3 separate regions of the Homo sapiens genome follow, and regions 2 and 3 are each linked to region 1. The links are contacts of gene promoters, found by promoter capture Hi-C in blood cells and fetal thymus (Javierre and others, 2016). All regions are on one chromosome and are shown on one strand. Each heading gives the region's core, a stretch centred on a gene start or on the middle of the fragment in contact. The rest is flanking DNA. Distances are from core to core; before and after follow the strand shown.

Evidence for each region. Contacts are between HindIII fragments. The CHiCAGO score rates a contact against its expected background, and 5 or more counts as called.
Region 2: a fragment that was not itself captured here is called in contact with the fragment with the promoter of FAM170A in region 1 in 1 of 17 cell types (neutrophils); the score reaches 7.8 in neutrophils.
Region 3: a contact is called between a fragment that was not itself captured here and the fragment with the promoter of FAM170A in region 1, in 1 of 17 cell types (neutrophils). The highest score is 6.7, in neutrophils.

Annotation. Positions count from the first base shown.
Region 1 is chr5:119,626,720-119,631,353 of GRCh38, reverse strand. FAM170A (family with sequence similarity 170 member A) reads right to left here and starts at 1,796. Exons shown (of 5, transcript NM_001367956.1): 1 at 1,516-1,796. The coding sequence starts at 1,585. The HindIII fragment of the contact is 9,079 bases long and covers 1-4,005 here.
Region 2 is chr5:120,584,511-120,589,144 of GRCh38, reverse strand. All of the region lies in intron 1 of PRR16 (proline rich 16), which reads right to left. Among named protein-coding and RNA genes, the nearest start is that of PRR16, 120 kb to the right of the region's middle. The HindIII fragment of the contact is 5,467 bases long and covers 19-4,634 here.
Region 3 is chr5:120,504,435-120,509,068 of GRCh38, reverse strand. All of the region lies in intron 1 of PRR16 (proline rich 16), which reads right to left. Among named protein-coding and RNA genes, the nearest start is that of PRR16, 42 kb to the right of the region's middle. The HindIII fragment of the contact is 2,899 bases long and covers 968-3,866 here.

The sequences.
Region 1 (4,634 bases), core at 547-3,046:
AGGAGAGGAAAACCATTGCCTTCCCCTTCCTGTCCCAGCCCCCTGCTCTCCATGCCTACTCTCCACGCCTCCATTCCCAGGGCTCAACCTACAGGTCTTTATGCCTCATAGGCGCTGCTGAGCTCTAATCGGGGCAGAAGCCTCCAGGGCCATCTCTGGGGCAGGCTCCTTTCTGCCCTGTCTCCTGCATGTGAGCATCCCCCTTTCAGGATAAGTGGCTTGTTTACATTTAATACATGCCATTATCATGCAGCCTGGGAAGTAAATTGACAGCGATCTGAGGCCCTTACCCTGTGCTTCATTTCCTCTGGGAAGTCCCACACTGTGGATTCACAAACTCTATTGGATTAATTGGTTAATTCTTCCCGCTGAAGCAATCAAACCTCCGTGGTTTCACTATGACGCCATCCCTAAACAAGTGTTTAATCTACTTTCTAACAAGCATTTCACTTCTCAAGATATTTTTCAACAAGGCCTTTAACTCATTGGGCTACTCTCGTTTCTGCTAAAAGGTGTAGTGCAAATCATAGACTTCTACCAGCACCCTTCACACCTTCCACCTCAGTCACCCCAGAGAAAGAGCAAATAAAGAGAATACGAGAGAAAGATGAGACTCAGGCTGCATCACTGGGTCTTTGTAAGTGGGTCCCCCGCCTGCCTGAGACTGGCATAGTTCCAGGTACCAGCAGCCCCAGAGCAAAAGTTCTCAGCCCAGCAGGGTTGGCTTTCTGTGTGCCAGTGGCATCTGAACTTCCTGTCCGTCTCACATCTGGGTACCCTCAAGATGGATGTGCGGGCATCAGCCAACAGCCAGGTCTTCCCCTCCCTACTGCATAGGTGGTACATTCTCCTCAGTTTCTCCTCCCTAAAGAAGGCTCAGGCTGGCCGGGAGCGATGGCTCACGCCTATAATCCCAGCACTTTGGGAGGCCGAGGCAGGTGGATCATGAGGTCAGGAGATCGAAACCATCCTGGCTAACACGGTGAAACCCTGTCTCTACTACAAATACAAAAAAAAAAAAAAAAAAAAAAATTAGCCAGGCGTGGTGGCGGGCGCCTATAGTCCCAGCTACTCGGGAGGCTGAGGCAGGTGAATGGCGTGAACCTGGGAGGCGGAGCTTGCAGTGAGCCGAGCTCACACCACTGCACTCCAGCCTGGGCGACAGAGCAAGACTCTGTCTCAGAAACGAAAAAAAAAAAAAAAAGGAGGCCGAGGCAGGCGGATCAGGAGGTCAGGAGATCGAGACCATCCTGGCTAACACGGTGAAACCCCGTCTCTACTAAAAATACAAAAAATTAGCCGGGCGTGGTGGTGGGCACCTGTAGTCCCAGCTACTCGGGAGGCTGAGGCAGGAGAATGGCGTGAACCCGAGAGGCAGAGCTTTCAGTGAGCCAAGATCGCGCCACTGCACTCCAGCCTGGGCGATAGAGCGAGACTCCGTCTCAAAAAAGAAAAAGAAGGCGGCTCAGGCTGGCCAGTGACGCTTGTGCCCCAGAAAGTTTGCCCCGCACATACCTCCTCCCTTCTCAGCGGTTTCCTGGGACTCTTCATTTTCCAAATGTTTCCTCTTTTGTCGTCGTTTCATGATATCAGCTAGAAGAGTTTCTAGAAGATGCTTAATGTCCACCTCCCACTTTTTCCTGTAGATTGGCCCTTCTTGGCTCTCAGGAAATTCATTAAAAAGATTCAGTACGAGTAAACGTAGTTGAATCTCCGAGATAGCTAAAGAACTCAGACCGCTTAGTGAAGGAGCAGCACTGCCCAGTGCCCACTACACTGCAGGGCTGTTAAGGTTCAAAGGTCACCAGGCCCATCGCAGATTCTCTGACATCAATGATGACATCACGGCGTTCTACGGACCTAGGTCCAACACAGTCTGTGCAACTGCAGAGACATCATTTTCAAAAACAATTCCTTTTTTCCAATAGAAGTCCTCTAATGAATTCAACTCTCCCGTATTTCAAATGTGGCAGAATATTTTGAGATGTTAACATGTTCTGTTTAATTTTTTTCTTTTCTTCTTTTTTTTTCACCCTTTCCCTTCTGGACTCAAGCAGGTAGCAGGCTTTGTGTTCATTGCTCAGAGGAGGGGTATGGCAGGGCTGAAAGCAGCAATAGCATGTTAATCATCTTGACTTTTCTTTCTTTTTTTTTTTTTTGTTGTTTTTATTTTGTTTTGTTTGTTCAGAGACAGGGTCTCTCTCTGTTGCCCAGGCTGGATTGCAGTGGTGTGATCATAGGGTCACTTCAGCCCCTAGGCTCAAGTGATCATCACACTTCAGCCTCCCGAGTAGCTGGGACAACAGGCACCAGACACGAGGCACCACACCCGGCTAATTTTTTTTTTTTTTTTTTTTTTTGAGAAACAGGGTCTCAGTATGTTGCCCAGGTTGGTCTTGAACTCCTAGCCTCAAGCTATCCTCCTGCCTCAGGCTCCCAAAGTGCTAGGATTGTAGGCATGAGCCACCACACCCCACCTGACTTTTATTTCTAAAATCTCAAACTCTGTAGGAAAGAGGAAAGTTAGCAGAAACATAACGGAAGCAGGATTTTTTTTAACTAGGCATGCCCCCTTCTTGCTCTACTATAGTGTTGAGAGGTACTGATTAGGTCAGAGAGAGAGAGGGATCTTCAAACTATGGAGGAGAGGAGCCCTCTAAAATGTGGCTGAAGAGGTACATGTGGCAAAAACTTCAAGAAGGGCTGCCTGTATTATGCGTACAGGCAGAATCATGGCGACCTATCTCACACATGGCATAGGAGCCACACCACCTAAAGACTCCCTGGCAGCTGAGCTGATGGGCATCTAAACTTCAGCTGTATGCTCCAATAACCAGAGACTATGCTCTCACCCCACCCTCAAAACCTCAGCCCTGTATGATTTCCAAATAGGGAGGGGTGGAAATCCAAAGAGGACATCAACAGAACCAAGGCTTAAATTACAAATTAAATGGAGTTACATAAGAAAATTGCATACTATTTCCTGCACATCTCTGCTCATGGGCTGAAATGTATACCAGTTATAAGTGGCAACCCATCTGGATCTTCCTGATTCCAATCTAAAATTAGAGACACCTTATTTGGGGCAGTGGCCCCAGTCCAGTGGGACTATTAGTTGACAAGTATGAGGGGGACTCCCAGAAATCACTGCATTAAAAAAGCAGTAGAAATACCCAGAGGACCAAGATGGGCCCAAATTTGAAAGGGCACTGCAGACTGTCCCCAGGCAGAAGGAGAATGAAGATAGGGCAAATGTAGCCTTGTAAAAATTTGCTGATGAGATTAAATCTCCAGTTTCTTAAAGAATCCCTAAAAAAGAGGGGCCAAAGAGCATTTTTTTGGGTGGTAGAAATTTTCAGACTAAAGTAGAGAGAATTGTATAATAGGAATGCAGTTTCATGTACACATAATCCAGTTTCAACAGTTATCAGTATTCTGCCATTCTTGTTCCAACCACCACACACACAGACTTTTAGTCTTTTGTTCATTTCTTTTTATTTAGGTGTTTGAGATAGAGGAGTGGGGGACTTGCTGTATTTTAAAGCAAATTCCAGACATTATGTCATTTCTCCTTGAATGCAGCAGTATGTACCTACAAAGATATGAACTTTTAAAAAGCATAACAGAAATATCATTATCTCACCAAATGAATTTAATCATAATTCTTTTATATAATTTCATAACCAAGCCATACTCAATTTCCTCCAAATATGCTAAAATATCTTTGTATAACTGTATTGTTGAGATCAAGATCCAAACAAAGTCCACACATTGTGATTGGTTGATACATCTTTTAGTCTATAACAGTTCTCCCTCCCTTTTTAAGGCATTCACCTGTTGGAAAAAACTGAGTAATTTATCTTCTAGAATTTTCCACAGTTTGGAAATGGTTAATTGTATTCTTGTGATGTTATCTAGATGTTCCCCTATGAGCTGAATTGCCTTGTAAACAGGTAGTTAGGTCTAGATAATTGATTAGTTTTAGATTCAGTGACATGGGAAGCTTGCAGAGTTTTGCAGGAGAAATTACATTTGAAAAGATCACTCTGGTAACTGTGTTGAGAATAGACTTTTAGAAGGCAAAGGCTGAATCAGAGAGAACAGTGGGCCTATTGCAATAATCCAGGAGAGAGATGAGACTGGTTTGGATCACAATGTTAGATGTGAAAATAATGGATAGTGGTCATCTTCTGGATGTATTTTGTAGGAAGAGACAACAGAATTTGCTGAAAGATCAGATATTTTCCAGAAGCTAGGCTTGTGGACTCCTTCATCTGGTACCCCACCAAAAGAGGCCATTCTACATCTGCCCCTGAAGTCATAGCCTTCATGTGGGGAACATGTGGGGACACTAGATCAAAGGAGCCTCCTCTTGTAGCCGACAAAGATGGCTGTTTGTTCCTCCCTCTGACCTCCCCCTCTGGCTTTCCTCTGTTCCTCTTTGACTTCCCCCACCACCAGATTCATCATCAAAACTCCTTCTGATCCTTGAAGAGTCAGGGAAAAAATGTCCACCAGGTGACCAAATATTACTTAGGGGTAGGAGTCACAGTCCTGGAAGACATACCCCAAACTGTTCACTTTCCTTACCTCTGAGTCAAGAAGGAGGATGAGAGGAACAGGTGCAGAAGATA
Region 2 (4,634 bases), core at 1,503-4,002, 960 kb before region 1:
TTATTAGGATAAAAAGCTTACTCATTTAATCCTTATAATAATAACCTTATCCAGTGGGTTTTATTATCATCTCTACTTTATAGATCATAAAATTGAAGCACAGAGAGATTAAGTCACATTGCTAGAAAACGGTAGAGGCAAGATTCTAATCCAGGAAGTTTACTAGGACTTTTCTGCCTAGAAATTAATGGTAGAACTGGGCTTTAGTATAAAAAAAAATCTATTGGTTAGACAGAGAGAGATAACCTATTTGAGACTTAGAGAAATTAAAGATTGGATTGTCCTATTATTTTAAAAAATGAAATTAGGAACAGAGAAAAGGAAGTTTTATTCCGGGTTAAGAGCATGTTGTCAGAATTTGTGCTCTACATTCAATGATGAATTACTTAAGGTCACAATAAAAAGCTAAAACCAAGGCATATAATTTACAAATATAGGCATACCTTGGAGGTATTGTGAATTTAGTTCCAGAGCCATACTATTTTTTCTGTTTCCCACTGCATATAAAAATCAACTTTATACTGTAGTCTATATGTATGTAATAGCATTATGTCTAAAAAAATGTGCATACCTTAATTAAAAATACTTTATTTCTAAAAATGTTAATGGTCATCTGAGCCTTCAACAAGCTGAAATCCTTCTAATGGTAGAAGCTCTTGCCTTGTTAGCAATAGCTGCTGAATAATCAGGGTGGTGTTGGGCTAAGGTTGGGATGGCTGTGGCAAAGTCTTAAAATAAGACAGCACTAAAATTTGCCACGTGAATGGACTCTTGCTTTCACAAAAGACTTACGTGTAGCATGAGAGGCTGATAGCATTTTACACACAGTAGAATTTCTTTCAAAATTGGAGTCAATCCTTTCAAACCCCGCCATAGCTTTAAAAACTAAGTTTATGCAATATTCCAAATCTGTTATGTCATCAATGTTCACAACATTTTCACCAGAAGTAGATATCATCTCAAGAAACCACTTTGTTTGCTCATACATAAAAAGAAATCTCTCATCCATTAAATTTTTATCATAAAATTGCAGCAATTCAGTTATATCTTCAGGCACTACTTCTAGTTCTCTTGCTATTTACACATAGGCAGTTACTTCCTCCACTGAAGTCTTTAACCTCTCAAAGTCATCCATGAGGGTTGGAATCAACTTCTTCCAAACTCCAGTTAATGTCAACATTTTGAATTCTTCCCATGAATCACAAACGTTCTTAATGGCATCTATAATGGTGAATCTTTTCCAAAATGTTTTTAATTTACTTTTCCCATATCCATCAGAAGAATTACTATGTATGGCAGCAATAACCTTATGAAATATTACTCTTAAATGATAAGACTTTAAAGTCAAAATTACTCCTTGATCTATGAGCTGCAGAATGGCTGTTGTGATAACAGGCATGAAAACAACATTAATTTATGTACATCTTCATCAGAGTTCTTAGTTGACCAGGTGCATTGCCAATGAGCAGTGATATTTTAGAAGAAATATTTTTTTCTGAGTAGTAGGTCTCAACAGTAGTCTTAATTTATGCAGTTTATCGTGCTGTAAACAGATGTGCTTTCATTCAGGCTTTGTTGTTCCATTTCTAGAGCAAGGGCAAAGTAGATTTAGCATCATTCTTAAGGGCACCAGGATTTTCAGAATGACAGATAAGCACCAGCTTCAACTTAAAGTCATCAGGTGCATTAGCCCCTAAAAACAGTGTCAGAATGTCCTTTGAAACTCTGAATCCAGGCACTGACTTCTCTCCAGCTATGAAAGTCCTAGGTGGCATCTTCTTTCAATAGAAAGCTATTTCATCTTCATTGTAAATCTGTTATTTAGTGTAGCCACCTTAATCAATTATCTTAGGTCTTCTGGATAACTTGCTACAGCTTCTCCATCATCTGCTGCTGCTTTATATTGCACTTTTATGTTATAGAAATTGTTTATTTCCTTATCCCCATGATAAAACCATTGCTAGCTCCAAATTTCTCTCCTACATCTTCTTCACCTTTTAGCCTTTATGAAGTTTCTCAGCCTTCACAGAATTGAAGAAACTTAGGGATTTGCTCTGGACCAGGTTTTGGCTTAAGGAAATGTTTAATCGTCTATCCAGATCACTAAAACTTTCTCATCAGCAATAAGGCTGTTTTGCTTATCATTTGTGTGTTCACCAGAGAAGTACTTTTAATTTTCTTCAAGAATCTTTCCATTGAATTCACAACTTGGCTAACTGTTTGGTGCAAGAGGCCTAGCTTTTGGCCTGTCTTGGCTTTAGACATGCCCTCCTCACTAAGTTTAATCATTTCCAGCTTTTCACTGAAAGGAGAGATGTGGGACTCTTCCTTTCACTTGAATGCTTAGAGGTCATTGCAGGGTTACTAACTGGTCAAATTTCAATATTATTGTGTCTTAGGGAACAGAGAGGACCAAGGAGAGGAAGAAAGACGGAAATGGCCAATGAGTGTAGTAGTCAGAACATACACAACATTTCTCAATTAGTTGGAAGTCTTATATAGGCATTTTTGTGGCACCCCAAAGAATTACAATAGTAACATTGAAGACCACTGATCACAGATCACCATAACTGATGTAATAATAATGATTATTATTATTGTAGGGATTACCAAAATGTGACAGAGAAATACAAAGTAAGCACACGCTGTTAGAAAAAAAAAGTGCTGACAAATTTGCTAGACACAGGGTTGCCACAAACCTTCAATTGGTGAAAAACACAATAACTGAAGCACAAAAAAGTGAATCGTAATAAAATGAGGTATGCCAGTATTACTTTAGAAGATAATTTATTATTACAGTTGAAATAAAGATAAAATTATGCTTTCCTTCCTCTAAGTAGTTTGGTAAATTAGGTCTCTCTTTTTTTAAGACCTATAACCCAGTCAATTATTTTTTACAGTTGTTGCACATATTCCATTTAACAATTAAGATGTTGTTGTGTTCATCAATCAAAAACATATTTTTTTTTTTTTGAGATGGAGTCTCGCTCTGTTGCTGGGCTGGAGTGCAGTGGCACAATCTCAGCTCACTGCAACCTCCACCTCCCTGGTTCACATGATTCTCCTGTCTCAGTCTCCTGAGTAGCTGGGACTACAGGCACGTGCCACCACGCCCAGCTAATTTTTGTATTTTTAGTAGAGACAGGGATCACCATGTTGGCCAGGATGGTCTCGATCACTTGACCTTGTGATCCACCCTCCTCGGCCTCACAAAGTGCTGGGATTACAAGCATGAGCCATCGCACCCGGCCCAAAAATACATTTTTGTATTTTATTTCTCTATGTAGTAAATAAACTTCAAGATAACAGGGATCCTGGAAATGAAGGTAATACCTTCATTTCATTTCAGGAAATGTACCTGAAACACATACGTTCAGCTTGAAATGCTAACTTGAAGTATTGAATAACACAGCTGAAGTTCTTCATGGAATGCAAATATTATGGGAGACAAAAAAAATTAAGCTACATTATCTAGGGGAGATGGCAAAGGAGTGGGGTAGTGTGAAGAAGGAGCTTTTTTTTTTTTTTAGACCAAGTCTCACTCTGTCTGCCAGGCTGGAGTGAACGACACGATCTCAGCTCACTGCATCCTCCAATTCCTGGGTTCAAGAGATTCTCCTGTCTCAGCCTCGTGAGTAGCTGGATTACAGGCACTTGCCCCCTTGCCTGTGTAATATAATATAATTTTTATATTTTTAGTAGAAGCGGGGTTTCACCATGTTGGCCAGGTTGGTCTCGAACTCCTGACCTCAAGTGACCTGCCCATCTCAGCCTCCCAAAGTGCTGGGATTACAGGCATGAGCCACCATGCCCAGCTGAGCTTTTTAATTCTAAACCAAACAGAAAACCTTGTCCTTCATTCTTCAAATCAGCTCAGTTTTCTTACATTATTGTGTAATTGTATGTGCTGTTAGCCCAACTGACTCAAAATTTAAACAATAAGAAGCATAGCCCTCAATAAAGAAACACATTTTCCTCAGGCATATAGTTGGAATTGACATATCTGTCTTATTCTTATTTAACAATTCAAAGTCCATTAATTTTAAAGCTGTTTTAACAATTGAGTCTTTCCCAAGGTGGAAGGGCAAATATTTTGTTGTTTAGTTGAAAGAGTACTTTCGAGAGACTGAAAACAACAGCTAAGATGATCTAGTGAGGCAGAAAGACCAGGGGCTTGAAATCAGAGGAGAGGAGTTTCAGCCCCCTTCTGCTTTGACGAAGATTGAAATGATCCAGTGTCTACAAGTCTTGGTGTCTCTATAGCACCACCTGTCTTATGGGATCATTGGGAAGGAAAATAAGATAACATATGAAAGTAGCATCCAGAGGCCCTTCTACATAGAAGACTCTTAAACACAGACGACTACTATTTTATAAGTATTGTGATCTTAAACATGACATTTGAAGTTAGAAATCAGAAGTATTACTCCTGGTTGAGGAAATTACTAAGTGTTTGATCATGGGTTATTCACAACCCATACAAAATATCTCTTAGTCCATTATAAAATGCAGATAATCTACTCTCTGTGCCTATCTAAAAAAATGATTTAAGAACAAATTAGAAAATGCCTGGGGAACAGAATATCAATATAAATTTAGTATAATTAATTTCAAATAGCATTCATAAAATACTT
Region 3 (4,634 bases), core at 1,168-3,667, 880 kb before region 1:
ATATAATCTAAACAACCTATTTTACAGAAAGCTAGTCCCATCAGTGTATATTTTCAACTTCACAATTTTTATTTGACTAAGCAAATTATCTTTACTATCCCCCCCCTCACCCAACTAAAAGTTACAGGTTATATACAAAAAGGAGCATATAGTAATAAATATTTATTTTCAGACAATGATAGCCCTAGACCTTCTTATGACATGATTTAGCTTATGCCAGGGCAGCATTTATATATTTAATATATTCAGTGGTTGATAAAGTATATAATTGTATGATAGCTATTGTCCTTAAACTAATGCTTTAAAACCTAAGATGATCCCTGTATATGGGGAAAACACTCAAAGTAAAAATGTAAAATATTTGCAGAATGACGTTATCCAAATAAGTCTCTGTTAATTAAAGACACAATTTATAAGGATATTCTGGATATACTGGAGAAGATTGAGCCCTACAAATACGGAAATCTAATGATATGGGGAGGGGCTAACACCATTGTTCTAAAGCCTTTCTTTTTTCTAATTTCTAAAGCAACTGAGGCTTCCTGGGTTGTTACCCGTCTGAAGAAAGCATCAAATACACTACTTATATAATATTGCAGCAGACTGCTACAGAGATTAAATTGTCATCAGACTCCACACATTCTCCTTTAAGTTATTGTAACAGTTAAAAATTGTGTTCAATTGCATATAAAAGAAAACCCAAACAACACTGTTTTCAGCACACAGAGTTTTGCATAACAAGAAGTCAAATTTCAAGCAATCCAGGATGATGTAACAACCACAAGTGTATAGTAACTACTGCAGATGCCATTCATCTCAGCATATAGTTTTCGTCCTCATCTTCTCAAGATGGAAGTTTTGTCTCCTTGCATGATATTCCTATTTTTATTCCAGGAAGGGGAAAGGGAAGAAAAGGAAGGAAAAAGAGGAAAGGTATGTGCAGCTGAGTCTGCTCCCTTTAAAAGCTTTCCCAGAAAACCCGCCAATGACATACTTAGGCACCACCAGTCTGACTGCACCACAATTTAGTAGGAGAGGTTGAGAAATATAGTTATTTAGTGGGCACATTAGTGTCTCAAACCAAAGTGAGGTTCTGATGTTAAGGAAGAAGGAGGGAATAAATAGTGGGTAGGCAAGTAGCAGTATCTGCCCTTGTTATAAATGCACTGCTTTGTCATCCAGCTGTCATCTAACCCAATAGAATATGGTTTTGAAAGTCTCTGAAAAATAGAAAGTTTACATTGATTCTTGCATCAGACAGTAATTTTTTTTAAAGACACCCAAGCTCAAACTGTCATATTTAACAATTCAGACCAACCTTAAAAAAAATGGTTAACTAGCGTGCCTTTTCCTTAGCAGTTGTTGGTAAGAAAATAAAAAAGCAACTTTTAATTAAAAAAATATAAAACAAAGCAAAATGAAACCATAACAATGACAAAAACACTGAATATGAGTCTTCAGGCTTTATATATACAAACTATGTCTAAGTCATGTCAGTCCAACATTTTGTCATCGTTCTCTCCTTACTATTAATCCTGAAGGAATCACACTTTTCTGTAAGATGATCAAAATAAATTGATGAGGTACTCCATCTGTTCTGCATGCAGTCACACATTTGCCACTTTTGCTAACTGTAAGGTTTTTCACACTGAGAAACACTGCTGATAAATCAGGAATGATGATCACTGAAACATTTGTTTCGCAATTTAAGTAAAATACTTCATGTACATATTCCATCAAAAATGGAAATAAGTTGTTCATGTCTGTTTTATTTTTCACAGCATAGGTATATATAACATAAAAATGCCTTAAAGGGTAGAAATCTTTAAATATTGTAGATGCAAGGTATTATATATCTCATACAAACTGCATTTGTGGCATACTATGCAAGGGATGGTGCCCTTATGTTTCTAGTTTCTTTAGGGATTCTAGATATATTCTCAAAAATAAAAATAGGAGTGTCCTTTAAGACAAATCATCACAGAAAGGATTTCTCCTATTGTATTTCTTTAGCCTGGTATTACCACTGGTAGAAAGTTGAAATGAATGGAGCAGTAGACATTAAATTTACTTCCCAAGGCCATTAACAGTTGCCTTGCCTTCTTCTATTGAGGCCAGAAAGCTAAAATACTGACCCCCATTAGCCTCCCTTCTGATCTTGGGACCCCACTGTGCTCAAAGATAAGATGGGAACAAATGGGAAACTTAAAAGTATAGGCTCAGTTGGCAAGCTCTTCTTAATATTTTTTTAGTCTTTTCCTCCTCTGCCTTTTTTTTTGGCCTGGAAACTGATGTGACACATAGAGATGCAGCAGCCATCTTGCCACCATAAGAGAAAAGTCATACAACATGTCTAGAATAGAAAGGATGAATGGATAGAGAAATAGAAAGATAGAAGATGCCTGGGCCTTTGATAACACTGTGGACCTGTTGCTGTATCCCTGGACTGCCTGCCCCAGAGTAATGCAAATCAAAACTATGATACGGTATCATCTCACTCTGGTTAAAATGGCTTTTACCCAGAACTTCTTGTTATATAATAAAAATGGCCAGCATAACTTTAAGCCACCGTTAATCATGTTTTCCATAATTCATGGCTGAATACAGTACTAACTGATACAAATCAGTTGAGCTTACGTTATATTTATTCATTGTACATCAGGCCATATCTCTAACAGATTTTTATTTATTTATCTTTAGAAATAGGTAATCAAAATACATTTCAATATATTTTAATATTGTTATGCAAGAATTTATTCTAAAATAAAATTGTATTTATCTTTTCCTTAAAAAAAGATATATGTGAAATAAGTTATAAAGAATACCTAAAACCTACTTTTTATGAAAATTGCAAATTAAAACAAGCATACCCACATGGTAACTCAATGAGAACTCATGTGAAAGACCCTCCACAGCCTCTGTACAGAATATGTATTTGTGTACTTGTTTATTTGTAAAGCATCATTTCTAAGAAATCAATACTTTTAAGTTCTGAAGGCAAGAAAAGTTTCATTGGTTGTCATATGATACAGGCTTACAAGTGAACATGATGAAGTAAATGTGATGAAACTAGATGCACTCTATGTAGAAAAAATGTGTATATATATATATATATATATATACACACACACACATACACACATATATATCATCCCTATGTATGTATATATATACATATTACTCATACACATATGTATACGCGTGTGTGTATATACATACATATATACATACTTTCAGAAGAGAAGCAGTAAATTTAAAATGTATATATCTATATCAGTTTAAAGTAGACATGCTAAATAATTCATGAAAATTTATTTGTTTTATAGCTTTTGAGAAATTAATCAAAGACAAAGGGACAACAGAAGGTTCTGAACTGTTTAAAACTTGACTCTGCAGCAATCTGTTATAAAATAAAAGTGTAAAATCCCAATTCACTTTTTTCATTGAAATAACTGACACTTGTACAGTCGCCAAATGCATTCAATCTTCATCCTCCAGTGATGGATAGCCTGATCTTTCTTATGATAAATAATCTCAAAGTAAATTTTGAGAAACAAGTTCTGGAATTTCAGTTTCAACTACTCAAGTCCTCTCCAAGTATAAAGTGGGGTACAAAGGAGCCCATTTGGGAAGTCCATTTGTGATTGGACACCTGCCCAAGCAGGAGGCAACAGCCACATTCAATACCTTTTAAGCAACCTATTCCCTGCCCTGTAAGTGTTCTTATCCAGGACTTGGATTGTTTTAATGCATTTGCTCAGGAATGCTTTAATAACCAAATGCATTAGAAATTGTTTCTTTATTAAAGACCCCTTCAGTATTTCTTTAGACATTAGAGTTTTCAATTCAAATATTTATGAGAAGCTTCATTAAGTTTATATTATCCTGCAACTCATTTCCACTAGTCAGAAAAGTGTTTGGAAAGGGAGAAGAAAGAAAGCAGAAGGAAAAGAGGGGAGGATTAAATTAATCACATGAAATTCTTTTTTAGTATTATTTTGAAATGATTGAAATATAGCATGATTCCCCAGATTATATTCCAAATGTCCAGGAACAAATAACAGCCTGAAGAACCTGAGAGGTGCTACAATAAAAGTATTCTTGCCTTCTATTATCAACCCCTCCTCCTGTTCCCATGAGTTTCTGCAATCAAATCCTTGAAGATGCAAGGCATTTCTTTGCCTACAGATCTGTAACTATGGGCCTTGGGGGATTTATTGGAATGGCACAGGTAATCCCAGGGTATGCGACTCTTTGGCACTCAATATACCTAAGAAGCAATATGAAAATTCCTCAGTTTTTGTCATACCTTTAAGAGTCTTGGCTTCAAAGGGGATCCCTGTAACTGAGGGACCTGCTTGGCTGGGAAGCAAGAAACTGGCTCAGTGCCCTTCTCTGAATTTTTGCTTGAGCTCCTCTCTTCTGACCACATCATTTTCTTCCAAAGACTGACCTTCTTACATCAATGATCACCGCCCATGTCAACCCCGTGAAGGGCGACTCACTGCTCTTTTTAAATTGGAACTACTTCTCAAAGACATGTCATCCCAGTCAGTATGTGACAGACTACTTCAAAGCAGGCAGTCTCAAGACAGTAGATGAAAAAGACTTTAGATATATCCCCACAATTTCTT